Linked DNA regions of Homo sapiens: region 2 is linked to region 1. The links are contacts of gene promoters, found by promoter capture Hi-C in blood cells and fetal thymus (Javierre and others, 2016). All regions are on one chromosome and are shown on one strand. The core of a region is centred on a gene start or on the middle of the fragment in contact, and the rest is flanking DNA. Distances in the headings are between cores, read along the strand shown.

Evidence for each region. The method cuts DNA at HindIII sites, captures the fragments that hold promoters and counts their contacts. A CHiCAGO score of 5 or more calls a contact.
Region 2: a contact is called between a fragment that was not itself captured here and the fragment with the promoter of NMNAT3 in region 1, in 2 of 17 cell types (total B cells and M2 macrophages). The highest score is 6.4, in total B cells.

The regions. Positions count from the first base shown.
Region 1 is chr3:139,676,157-139,682,609 of GRCh38, forward strand. NMNAT3 (nicotinamide nucleotide adenylyltransferase 3) reads right to left here and starts at 1,816. Exons shown (of 7, transcript NM_001401600.1): 1 at 1,549-1,816. RefSeq lists a silencer at 1,870-1,919. The HindIII fragment of the contact is 2,876 bases long and covers 389-3,264 here.
Region 2 is chr3:140,862,761-140,869,061 of GRCh38, forward strand. No RefSeq gene overlaps it. Among named protein-coding and RNA genes, the nearest start is that of SLC25A36, 76 kb to the right of the region's middle. RefSeq lists an enhancer at 1,098-1,147. The HindIII fragment of the contact is 1,403 bases long and covers 1,587-2,989 here.

The sequences.
Region 1 (6,453 bases), core at 566-3,065:
TGCCAGACTCCTGCCTCATCTGGGTTCCCCTACTCTCTGGGCCTCTCAGTTGGTTTTCATGGAGCACTTTCTTTGTCTACAACAATGTTGTGAACAGAGCCAAATAAGAAATTGGGATCATTTGAGCCAATAAAATACAGTGAGCAGCTGACAGATGTTTCCTGAAACCTAAAATGCTCTCCCAAATCCATGGGGTCTCAAGGTCTGACACGTCCTTAGCAAGGTCCCAGCATAGTTGCTGCTTCTGGGAAGTCTTCTGTCCAGTTTTAAGAGGTGACACCAAAAGCTGAGAACCACCAATGAAATTCAAGAAGTAACTGATGCTCAGTGGAGCTGTGTGAACCATACCTTCAGGGGCTCCTGGGTGGCTTTCTGAGAAAAACAGAGAAGCTTTCCCCTGCAAGGCCAGTGGGTAAGAACCCTTTCTCTGGGTTGTGCCAGGGTGGAACTGTCACTTTATTTCACCTGGCCCACCGGACATGGGCTCCAGGAGGGCAGGGCCCCTGTCTGATTTCTCTCTGAATCCTCAGAGCCAGGGTAAAGTGGGCGCCAGTTAAATGTTTCAAGAATGAACAACTAAACCAGTCATCATTTTAGAGAACAGGCTGTTTGAGAGATTCTACTCAGAACCACTTATTTGATAGAGGAAGAAACAGGACTCAAGGAGAGGGGAAGTGACTTTGCTGAGAGGCAGGCACACTGTGTTTAGTCCAGAACAACATCAAGCCTTGGATGTTTAGTGCAGAGTAACATCCAGCACCCATCACGCAGTGCTAAGTCATTTACATTCACCATTTCCATTCTCAATGGGTAGAACAATCCCATTTTACAGAGGAGAACGTTAAGGTTAAGGAACTTGCTTTCCCCCCAGCTCTCTGCAGGCCAGCCCCACCAACCCTCCTTTCCTCAAGCCACATTCTCTCCCAACAAAATGAGTTTGCTCTGTTGTTCCCCGCCCGGGAATTCTCTAAAGTTTTAGTTCCAGCAGCCTTTGTAGCTGGGGGCCCTGATAAAATCTCTCCAGCACCCTAGAATTTCAATCTTCATAGCTCTGACCACAGTTTTAACGTTCACACTTGTTTGCATAGATATCCATTTGCTGTCGGTCTCCCCCCACTGGACTGTGAGCTGCACGGGGGAGGGCACCACATTTTTTGGCCTGCTACTGTAACCCCAGCACTTAGCCCAGCAGCGGACACTGAGTGGAACACGTTAAGTATTTGTTAGACACTGTGCTTATATTTTTAACCTTTGAGTGCACGAGTGCTAAAGGTGGGATCCGAACCCACGTCTCCGGGACTCTGGTCATAGCCAAAGGGGAGCTGGGGGTTAGGTTGACACGCTGCAGCGAGAACCGCCGGCGCGCAGAGGCAGCGCGGAGCTGTCCCCCCGGTTCGCGCCACCCCGGATGGCTCCGCACTCCGCCGCCACCTGTCGCCCCAGCGGGGACTCCCAGGACTCAGTTAGGGGCCAGGAGTCACGTGGGCCCGGGCATTCAGCCGCGATCCAGGTCCTAGTGGGCTGACGAGGGGCCCACGCTGCGCTTACCTGCTATTTGCAGGGCTCAGCAACGGCGCTCGGCGAGTCTCGGGGGACTGCGGGGGACTAGGGGACCTGCTGGGCCTAGCAGGGGCTGTCGGTCAGCGCGCGGCCCGGCGCCCGAGGTCCGAGAGGGAAACGACGTTTGGTCTCGGGACTCAAGGCTGCCTCCGGCCCGGGCAGCCTCAGGTCTAGATCCCCTAGTACCTGAGCTGGAGGCGGGGCCAAGGCGAACTTGACCTTGCGCTCCCTTAGCGGCCCCGGGCAGATGGAGTCTGAGGGAAACAGATCTGCGCCCCGCCCCTTCGCTGGGGCGGGCCCTAAGGAGACCCGGCCCTGGCCCCGCCCAGGGTCCTAAGCCCCGCCCTCTCCCCTGCCCCCGCCCCCGCCCGCTGGCTCCCAACCGCCAAGGCTCTTTTGTGTTGCGTGCGTGTTTGCTTTTTTATTCTCCTGTTTTGTATTCTGTTTGTTTTGTATTTTTATTTAATTTTCTTTTAAAAAAATACATGAAAGTAACGCCCACTTACTTATTAGAAAATAAAATTATCTAGATTTGCTTATAATGAAAGCAACAGGCCACTTCTCCCTCCCATCACAGCTCTTTTTAACAATTCCTCCGTTAATTTCTTCTAGTGGTCACCCGCTTGTCGCAAAAAAAAAATAAATAAATAAAATAAAAAAATAAAAAAAGAAACTTACATAGCGATTTCTTGATTTATCCATTGACTTTCTGCCATGTTATATGAGGATCTACTCTCTTACTGCGCGGCCCCTGTTTCCTTCTGACAAATTTACACCTCTATTCTCAAGCCCTGCCCTGGTAAACGCCAGACCTCAAAGCAGGGAAGGATTTCTGGGGCCTGAAGCATACACAGTTGTGTGGGGAGAAGGAAGGGAGGGCTGCTTAAGAAAGAGAAGACAGAATTAGGGCTTGCCAGTGAACATTTATTTGGAATGAGAAAATAAATCTTAACAGAATCCTGGGGTCTTAGAGATTGGGGTCCCTATCCCCTAAAACCTTCTTAGGAAATTTAGGTCCCAAATTTGCTTCCCTAACGCAGTCTGGCTTCCTCTGCCCACCCAGAACTCTCCATAAGCCCCCAGGGCTCATGGGAGCCTTGCAGAGAGAGGCCTTGAAGGACAAGATTCACTAGATTCTGCCAATACAGTTTCCTAATGGAGTGAATTGGAGTGTGCGAAAAAGAGAGACATCAAGGATGATGTCAAGGTTTTTTGATTGCTGTACACTTAATTTCCAGCGTTTCCTAGACACAGGAACACAACCTCATCTTAGTATGGAGAGTGTTTTATAAGCCTGTCCACATCACCAGAGCCTCACGGTGCACCCATGAAGTTGGCTGGACGGGTGCACTGTCCACAGTTTTAGGAGGCCCATAAATTTGTCCCTTGTGTATTAGCACCGGGGGCATGCAACTTGCACCCAATAAGTACCCAGGTAAATGGTACTTCCCCACTCAGTCTGAAGACACAGTGTCCGTGCCCTCTCGGATCCCTTTTCTCTTACCTGTGGTGTAAAATGTGGCTCCAGAAGGTGATCTTGGACAAGTCTCTTTACTTCCCAAGCCTCACTTTCCTTTCGTATAATGGGAGGTAACAACCCCTACCGCACTGAGTTTTGGGGAGGATTAAGTGGCTTAACATCTTTGGATATTCTTTAATTGATAAGTCAGCTTATTTCCCAGCAGGGTGGGAGGCTCATGAGAAAGCTTAGGGATTTCTGAGAATCTTGTGTAGCATGTAGTACCACAGGTTGATTAGAGGCCTTCGATTAAAATCGTGGGCTGAAGAGTCATTCTGGGTCAGGGCCCTAGGCCAGGGAGGGAGAAGCTGCACACAGAGAGCAGAGAAGAGGCTGGGCAATGACTTCCTCATGCAAGGGAAGCTTTCTCTGCCTGAGGTAGTGAAGACTAAAGCTTGGTCTAGGAGGAAGCCTGGTTTCCTAGGCAAGAAAAAAGGAATGAATTAATGGCATTCACAGCAACTGGATGAGATTGGAGAGTGTTATTCTAAGTGAAGTAACTCGGGAATGGAAAACCAAACATGGTATATTCTCATAAGTGGGAGCTATGCTATGAGGATGCAAAGACATAAGAATGACACAGTGGACTTTGGGGACTCAGAGGGGAAGAATGGGAAGGGAGTGAGAGATAAAAGACTACAAATTGGGTTCAGTGTATACTGCTCGGGTGATGGGTATACCAAAATCTTACAAATCTCCTCTAAGGAACTTACTCATGTAACCAAATACCACCAGTTCCCTAATAACCTATGGAAATAAAAATATTTTTTTAAAAAAGTAGCGTCCCCTTGTGCTGGAAGGTAAGAACCTCATATAATAGCCAAGCTTTACCTAACCTAAGCGGTGAAGACGCAATGGCTGAGAAATCCATTTTGGAGAGGCAACTACCTCCTAATTTTTTAGAAGGAGGAATACCTAAATGCAAGTCTTGTATTTGCTTAAGCTCACAAAAAGACTACTGGATTATGGGTATAATGGGAATAATATTTTCAGATCTCTCCTTTATTGGTAAGTTTCATTTCTCCTGGATCCTATCTGCCATTATGGCTCAAGGAAGGTGGCCACCTAATGCCACCTCAGGAAGGAGGAAGATTTTACATAGAGGATGTCTCAGCTTGAGTGCCTCAGAACCAGATCCTGAGGTAAGAATTAATGCAAGTAGTTATTTGAGAGGTACATGGAACACCAGCAGAGTAATGAAGAAGCAATACAGGGAAGAAAAGGGGAGCTCAATAAAAGATTAAGCCAGCTACTATAATAGATGTTTAGGGCTTAATCCTAGGGGAAAACCCTAGAAAACTGTGTGAAGAGCATGCCTTGGAATCATCCCACCCAAGGCTGCAGGAGACAGGTCTCTACAGGGAAAAAAGCTGGAACTGACCACTTAGCTCATATTTTTGAACATTTAAAACATTATTTCTAGGCATAAAAATGTCATTACTAAAATGAGATCTGGCTACAGTATAACACTATTCTGCAGTTTCCTTCTATCACTTAACAGTGTGCTGATGAAGTTTCAGGAGGAACTCTTTGGGCAGTAAGCAATGTGCAGATGGCTGAGAGTCACAGTCCTGGGATGGACCTGAGGCCATTCTGGAAAGCTTGCTTGTGGATGGATTGTGATGAGGCCGTAGACTGGGGCAGCCTCTGTATTTGGATGAACCTATTCTAACCTTGACTTCTGACCTGTCGCTGAGGAAAAGCAAGCTTTGAGTGGGTAAAAGTAAAATGTAAAAGGGAGACTGGTGGACTTTTCAAATGACCAAAGAGGGCAAACTTTTCAGTCACTGCAACTACTTCAGCAGATGGGCATTTTCTTTTCTTTTCTTTGAGATGAAATTTCACTTTTGTAGCCCAGGCTGGAGGGCAGTGGCGTGCAACCTCCGCCTCCCAGGTTCAAGTGATTTTCCTGCCTCAGCTTCCCAAGTAGCTGGGATTACAAGCGCTCGCCACCACGCCCAGCTAATGTTTGTATTTTTAGAAGAGACAAGGTTTCACCATGTTGGCCAGGCTGGTCCTGACCTCAGGTGATCCACCCGCCTTGGCCTCCTAAAGTGCTGGGATTACAGGCATGAGCCACCGTGCCCGGCCAGGTGTTTTCTTACAAACAGTGAACAGATAGTGCTCATGCCAGATCTTTCTTATACAAGCATCAAAGCAGGTCCTCACTAGAAAACCTTCACTTTGTCAATTTGGCTTCATGGCTATACTTACTATTGAGCTAAAATTATCCTTTTAAAACGTGAATCAGTTTATAACACTCCTCTGCTCAAAAGTTTCCAGTGGCTTCCACCACAATTAGGGTAAAATCTCAAGTCCTCCCCCTGGTGTGCAAGGCCCTCAAGGATCTGCCCTGACAAGTGCTCCAGCTGTCAGCCATTCTCATCTCTGGTTTCCTTGACTCTGTTGCTGTTCCTTGGACACACTGGGCCTATTTGCACCTAGAACCATGGTGCTGCTGTCCTCATTGACCTAAATAACACACCGCCCACTCTTAGGATAACTTTCCCAATTCATTAGCTTTCTAGTAGACAGCTCCACTTAACAAACAAAAATACTCCCATACAACCCCTTTTGTAGTACTTACTACCTATCATTGGAGGATATTTTGCTCATTATCTGTCTCCCTCGCAGAAGTGTAGGGCCCAAGAGTGGCTGAATCTTTATACATTTTGTTCCCTGATATGTCCTCACACCCACAACAGTGCCTAGCACCTGATATTCAATAAATATCTGTTGAATGAATGAATGCATTGAATTGAGCAAATGAAAAATATATTCAGTACACATACAGATAAAAATATTCTAGAATGCAGACTTTCAACTAATCTTGGTTAGGTTCCTCTCAAACTGAAAAAAATTGTTAGAACACAGAAAAATAAAATGAAATGGCTGAGCTGTATTATGTAATCTGATTTATAATTACAGGTTGAGTATTAGACTGAGAACTTTTGCTTTTTTATATTTCACCCAATGTCTATGTTAAATGTTTAAGCAAAGGTTAGCTTGAGAGGCTACATACTCATTTAAAAGTAGTAAAAAGAAACAAGGTTCTCCTAGTCACTTTAATAATTCAGAATAGTATTCTGTGGCTTCTGTTGGCATTTGAGACCCCAAGATGGCAACTGGTTACCTGAAAATAAAGGCCTTGATCAAATATTTAACATCTCACTTATTTTCATTTTCTGCATATTTTGTATTCCTGATTCTCACTTTTTTTTTACCCATTCTGCAGTCACACAATTCACACACTGAAGTTAATAGAAATGTTCCATGGATTATTAAATGCAGCTAAGCAATGAGTTTTTGCTAGAAAATAAGGCCAAACTGGGGCCACTTTGCTATTCTAACAAAGTAATTTTTCCTTGAAGGTA
Region 2 (6,301 bases), core at 1,038-3,537, 1.2 Mb after region 1:
AAATATCATTCGACCCAACAATGCCATTACTGGGTATATACCCAAAGGAATATAAATCATTCTATTATAAAGACACATGCATGTGTATGTTCGTTGCAGGACTATTCACAATAACAAAGACATGTAATCAACCTAAATGCCCATCAATGAGAGACTGGATAAAGAAAATGTGGTACATACACACCATGGAATACTATGCAGCCGTAAAAGAGAATGAGATCATGTCCTTTGCAGGGACATGGATGGAGCTGGAGGCCATTATCCTAAGAAAACTAACACAGGAAGAGAAAACAAAATACCACATGTTCTCACTTATAAGTGGGAGCTAAATGATGAGAAAACTTGGACACGTAGAAGAGAACAACACACACTGGGACCTATCGGAAGGTGGAAGGTGGGAGGAGGGAGAAAATCAGGAAAAATAACTAATGGGTACTAGGCTGAATACATGGGTGATAAAATAATCTGTACAACAAACCCCCATGACACCCACTTACGTATGTAACATGTACCCCTGAACTTAAAAGAAAAGTTAAAAATAAATTAATTAATTAATTAATTACCAAGCCTCAGGCATTTCTTTATAGCAATGCAAAAATGGCCTAACACAGAAAGGACACAGTCCCTGCCCTCAAGGGGAATGTCTAGTAGGAAGGCAGTCAAGCAAAAAAGAGTAGGACCCCAGGACCACCAGTGCTCTAACAGGGACACACACAGAGAAAGGGCCCCACACAGCCTGGCAGGGGGGCAGTGGCAGGGTGGGCTCCTCATAGGTGACCTTTTAGCTGAGTCCCCAAGGATGAAAAAGAATAGCCAGATGGGGGAGTGGATAAGGGGTTGTCCAGGCAGAGGGGCCAGCAGGGACAAAGCAATGGGTGTGTGGGAGAGTGTGGAGAGGAGAGGGGAATTAAGTCACCTGAGAAGATTAGTGGCAGGAAGTGAGACAGGGCTAGGGTGTAGGGACTTTGTCCTGAGGACTTTAAGAAACCGGAATGAGCCCCCAGGGAGCAGAAGTGGAGGGCCTAGTAGCCCAGAAATCACAAAATGAAGCCAGACACCCAACCTGCGAAGGACACAGTGGCAAGTCCCATTCCGTCCTCTGGAAAGCGCCGAGATTGGTATCCTGAATTATTGGTTTTGTGTCGCCACCTGCTGGCAAATTTTAAATTTGGTTCAATCAAATATTCAAAGAGAGAAACTTAAAAAAAAAAAAAAACAGAATAATTGCAGGCAACTTCCTTGAAGTTACAAAAGACCAAGTTAGAGTAAAACTTATTATAAAAAGAATATTATTTGAATTTAATTCAATAACAGGAGAGGAAAGCCTCACCTGAGATTACTGGGTTCAAAACCAAGCTCTACTACTTACCTGGTAAAATCACTTCACTTATCTTACCTTGACGTCCATAAAGTGAGATAATATTTTCTCAACTCACAGTTGTTGAGGGGAATAAAAGACATCAAGTGTGTAAAGAGCCTGGCACGTGGTGGAAATCCAACAGGATTTGGGGTTAGGGTGGTGGAAAACCGGCTTTGCACATGACCTATGGCCACCTCCTGCAACTCCTCCACTTCCTGTACTGGAAAGCTTCACTTAATCCTTTAGGTCTGAGACCTCAGGGAATGACATAGCCCCACACATGAACCACAGGCCAGGACAACTCCCTGCTCCCTTTTCCACTTTCTTACAGACCCCAGGAACTGAGGTGTCCCTTTCTGTGTTTCATGACCTGAACACTTGACCTGGCTGCCGTATGGGCAAAGGTTTTTCCATCATGCCTCTTCCCAAACCTCCTGTGAAGCCTGCTGATACCTGACTAGTTGATAATCCTAGAAAAACAGACAGGGAGCAGCAGAAAAGACAGATGGGGGAATGAATAACTAAGCTGAAGAAATCTTTTGTGTGTGTGTGGGTTCATACTACAGGTATATGTGTGTATGTATGTATCTCATGGGTTACATGAGATATTTTGATATAGGCAAATAATACAGGCATTTATTTTTTGTGTTACAATCTAATTATATTCTTTTAGTTATTTTTACATGTCCAATAAATGATTGTTGACTGTAGTCACCCCGTCGTGCTATTAAATACTATATCTTACTCATTCTAGCTATATTTTTGCACTCATTAACCATCCCCATTACCCTTCCCACTAGCCTTCTCAACCTCTTGTAACCTACCTTTTACTCTCTATTTCCATGAGTTCAATTGCTTTAATTTTTAGCTTCCACAAATAAGTGAGAACATGCAAAGTTTGTCTTTCTTTGCCTGGTTTGTATCACTTAACATAATGACCTTAGTTCCATCCATGTTGTTGCTAATGACAGGATCTTATTCTTTTTTATGGCTGAATAGTACTCCATTGTGTGTATGTACCACTTTTTCTTTAGTCATTCATCTGTTGATAGACACTTAGGATGCCTCCAAATCTTGGCTATTGTGAATAGTGCTGCAACAAAATGAGAATGCAGATATCCCTTTGATACACTGATTTCCTTTCCTTTGGGTATATACCTAGCAGTGGGATTGCTGGATCATATGGTAGCTCTATTTTTAGTTTTCTGAGGAATCTCCAAACTGTTCTCCCTAGTGGCTGCACTAATTTACATTCCCACCATCAGTTTATAAGGGTTCCCTTTTCTCCACATCTTCACCAGCAAGTGTTATTGCCGGTCTTTTGGAAAAAGGCCATTTTAACTGGGGTAAGATGATATCTCATTGTAGTTTTGATTTGCATTTCTCTGATAATTAGCGATGTTGAGCAACTTTACATATACCTCTTTGCCATTTGAATGCCTTGTTTTGAGAAACGTCTATTCATATATTTTGTCTATTTTTAATTTGATTATTATATTTTTTCCTACAGTGTTGTTCGAGCTCCTTATATATTCTGGTTATCAATCCATTGTTAGATGAGTAGTTTGCAAATATTTTCTTCAGTTCTGTGGGTTGCCTCTTCATTTTGTTGATTGTTTGCTGTGCAGAAGCTTTTTAACTTGAAGAGATCTCATTTGTCCATTTGTTGCTTTGGTTGTCTATGATTGTGGATATTACACAAGCAATCTTTGCCCAGTCCAGTGCTAGAGAGTTTCTCTAATGTTTTCTTTCCATGGTGTCATAATTTCAGGTCTTATATTTAAGTCTTTAGTACATTTTGATTTGATTTTTGTATATGGTGAGAGATAGAAGTCTAGTTTCATTCTTATGTATATGGATATCTGGCTTTCCCAGCACCATTTATTGAAGACACCGTCCTTTCCCCCAGTGTACGTTCTTGGCAACTTTGTTGAAAATGAGTCGATTGTAGATGTATGTATTTGTTTCTGGGTTATCTATTCTGTTCCATTGGTCTATGTGTCTATCTTTATGCCAATACCATGCTGTTTTGGTTACTACAGCTCTGTAGTATAATTTGAAGTCAGGTAATACGATTCCTACAGTTTTGTTCTTTTTGCTCAAGCTAGCTTTGGCTATTCTGGGTCTTTTGTGATTCTATATAAATTTTAAGATTATTTTTTCTATTTCGGTGAAGAATGTTACTGGTAGTTTGATCAGGATTGTGATGAATCTGTAGATTGCTTTGGGTAGTGTGGATATTTTAACAATATTGATTCTCCAAATCCATAAACATGGAATATCTTTCCATTTTTTTGTGTCCTCTTTGATTTCTTCAATCAATATTTTACATTTTTCATTGTAGAGATCTTTCACTTCTTTGGTTAATTCCTAGGCATTTTACAGTATTTGTAGGTATTGTGAATGGGATTACTTTCTTAATTTCTTTTTCAGCTTGCTTGGTGTTGACATATAGAACTGCTACTCATTTTTAGATGTAGATTTTGTATCCTGCAACTTTACTGAATTTATCAGTGCTGAGTTTTCTTGTGGAGTCTTTGGGTTTTTCCAAATATAAGATTATATTATCTACAAACAAGGATAATTTGTCTTCTTCCTTTCCAATTTGAATGTTCTTTATTTCTTTCTCTTGTCTAATTGCTCCAGCTAGGACGTCCAGTGCAATGTTGAATAACAGAGGTGAAAGTGAGCGTTCTTGTCTTCCTACAGATCTTAGAAGAAAGTCTTTCAGTTTTTCCCCATTCAGTATGATACTAGTTGTGGGTCTGTTTTATATGACTTTTATTGTGTTGAGATATGTTTCTTCTCTACCCAGATTTTTTAGGATTTTTATCATGAAAGGATGCTGAATATTATCAAATGCTTTTTCAGCATCAATTGAAGTGACTATATGATTTTTGTCCTTCATTCTGTTGATATGATGTGTCACATTGATTGATTTGTGTATGTTGAAGCATCTTTGCATCCCTGGAATAAATTCTACTTGGCCATGATGAGTGACCTTTTTAATGTGTTGTTGGTTTTGGTTTGCTAGTATTTTGCTAAGGATTTTTGCATTAATGTTCATCAGATATATTGGCCTGTAGTTTTCTCTGATGTGTCTTAATCTGGTTTTGGTATCACAGTAATACTGGCCTGGTAGAATGAGTTAGGAAGTATTCCTTCAAAATCTCTGATTTTAATTATTTGGGTTGTCTCTCTTTTTCTTTTAGTTTGCTTCCTCTGACTGTATATTGTCAAATAGGCTATCTCCGAGCTCACTAATTCTTTCTTCTGAAAGATTAAGTCTCTTGTTAAGAGACCCCGATGCATTCTTCCGTATGTCAGTTGCATTTTTCAACTCCAGAATTTCTGCTTGATTCATTTTAATTATTTCAATCTCTTTGATAATTTTATCTGAGAGAACCTTCAATTCCTTCTCTGTGTTATCTTGAATTTCATTGAGTTTCCTCAAAACAGCTATTTTGAATTCTCTGTCTAAAATGTTACATATCTCTGTCTCTGCAGGATTGGTCCCTGGTGCTTCATTTAGTTCATTAGGCGAGGTCATGTTTTCCTGGATGGTCTTGATGCTTGTGGATGTTCATCAGTGTCTGGACATTGAAGAGTTAGGTATTTATTGTAGTCTTCATTGTCTGGACTTGTTTGTACCCATCCTTCTTGTGAAGACTTCCCAGGTATTTGAAGAGACTTGAGTGTTTTAATTGGTTTTTGGTCACTGCAGCCATATCTGCATTAGGGTGCACCCCAAGACCAGTAATGCTGCGCCTCTTGAAGACTCATAGAGGTACTGCCTTGATGATCTTGGATAAGATCCAGAATTCTCTGGATTACCAAACAGGGACTCTTATTCTTTTTCCTTACTTTCTCCCAAACAAATGAAGTCTCTCTCTCTCTGTGCTGGGCTGCCTGGAGCTGGGAGAGGGGTAACACAGGTACCCCTCTGGCTACCACCACTGAGACTGTTCTGGGTCAGACCTGAAGCCCACATATCACTGGGTCTTGCCCAAGGCCTGTGGTAACCACTGCCTTGTTACTGCCTATGTTCATGTTCATTTAAGGCTATAGGGCACAAAAAATCAGCATGTGGCAAAGCCAGCCAAGCTTGTGTCCTTCCCTTAAGGGTGACAAGTTCCCCTGGCCCTAAGCAGGTCCAAAGATGCCATCCAGGATCCAGCATCTGGCATCAGAAACCTTAGGAATTTACCTGGTGCTCTATTCTATTGTAGTTGAGCTGGCACCCAAGCCATAATACAAAGTCCTTCCCATTCTTCCCTCCCCTTTCCATAAGCAGAGGATTCTCTCCGCGTGGCCACCACTGTCCCAGGCACATGAAGAGTACTGCCTGGCTAATGCCAATGTTCACTCAAGGCCTCAAAGGCTCTCCACTCAGCTTGTGGTAAATGCTGCCAGGCTTGGGACACTCTCTTCAAGGCAGTGGGCTTCCCTCTGTTCCAGGACAGGTCTAGAAATGCCATCCAAGAGCCAAGGCCTGGAATCAGGGACCCCCAAAGCCGGCTTATTGCTCTACCCCCACTGTGGCCGAGTTGGTATCTAAGCTGAAAGATAAAGTCCCCTTTACTCTTCCCTTTTCTTTTATGAAGCAGAAGGAGTCTCCCTGTATCCAGTACAGCTAGGAATGAACGGGTCACACCTGAAGCCAGCATATCTCTGAGTGTCACCCAAGGCCCATGGTAAGTAGTGCCTGGCTACCACTGCTGATTATTCAGGGCCCAAGGGCTCTTTAATCTGTAGGTGATGAATCCTGCCAGGACTGAGTCCTTCCCTTTAAGACAGTAGGTTCCATTCTGGCCCAGAGTGTGTCTAGAAATGTCACCTGGGAGCTAGGGCCTGGAATGGGATCCTCAGAACTGCCTAGTGCCCATGTTACTATGGCTGAATTGGTATCCAAGTTGCAAGACAAAGTCCTCTTTACTCTTC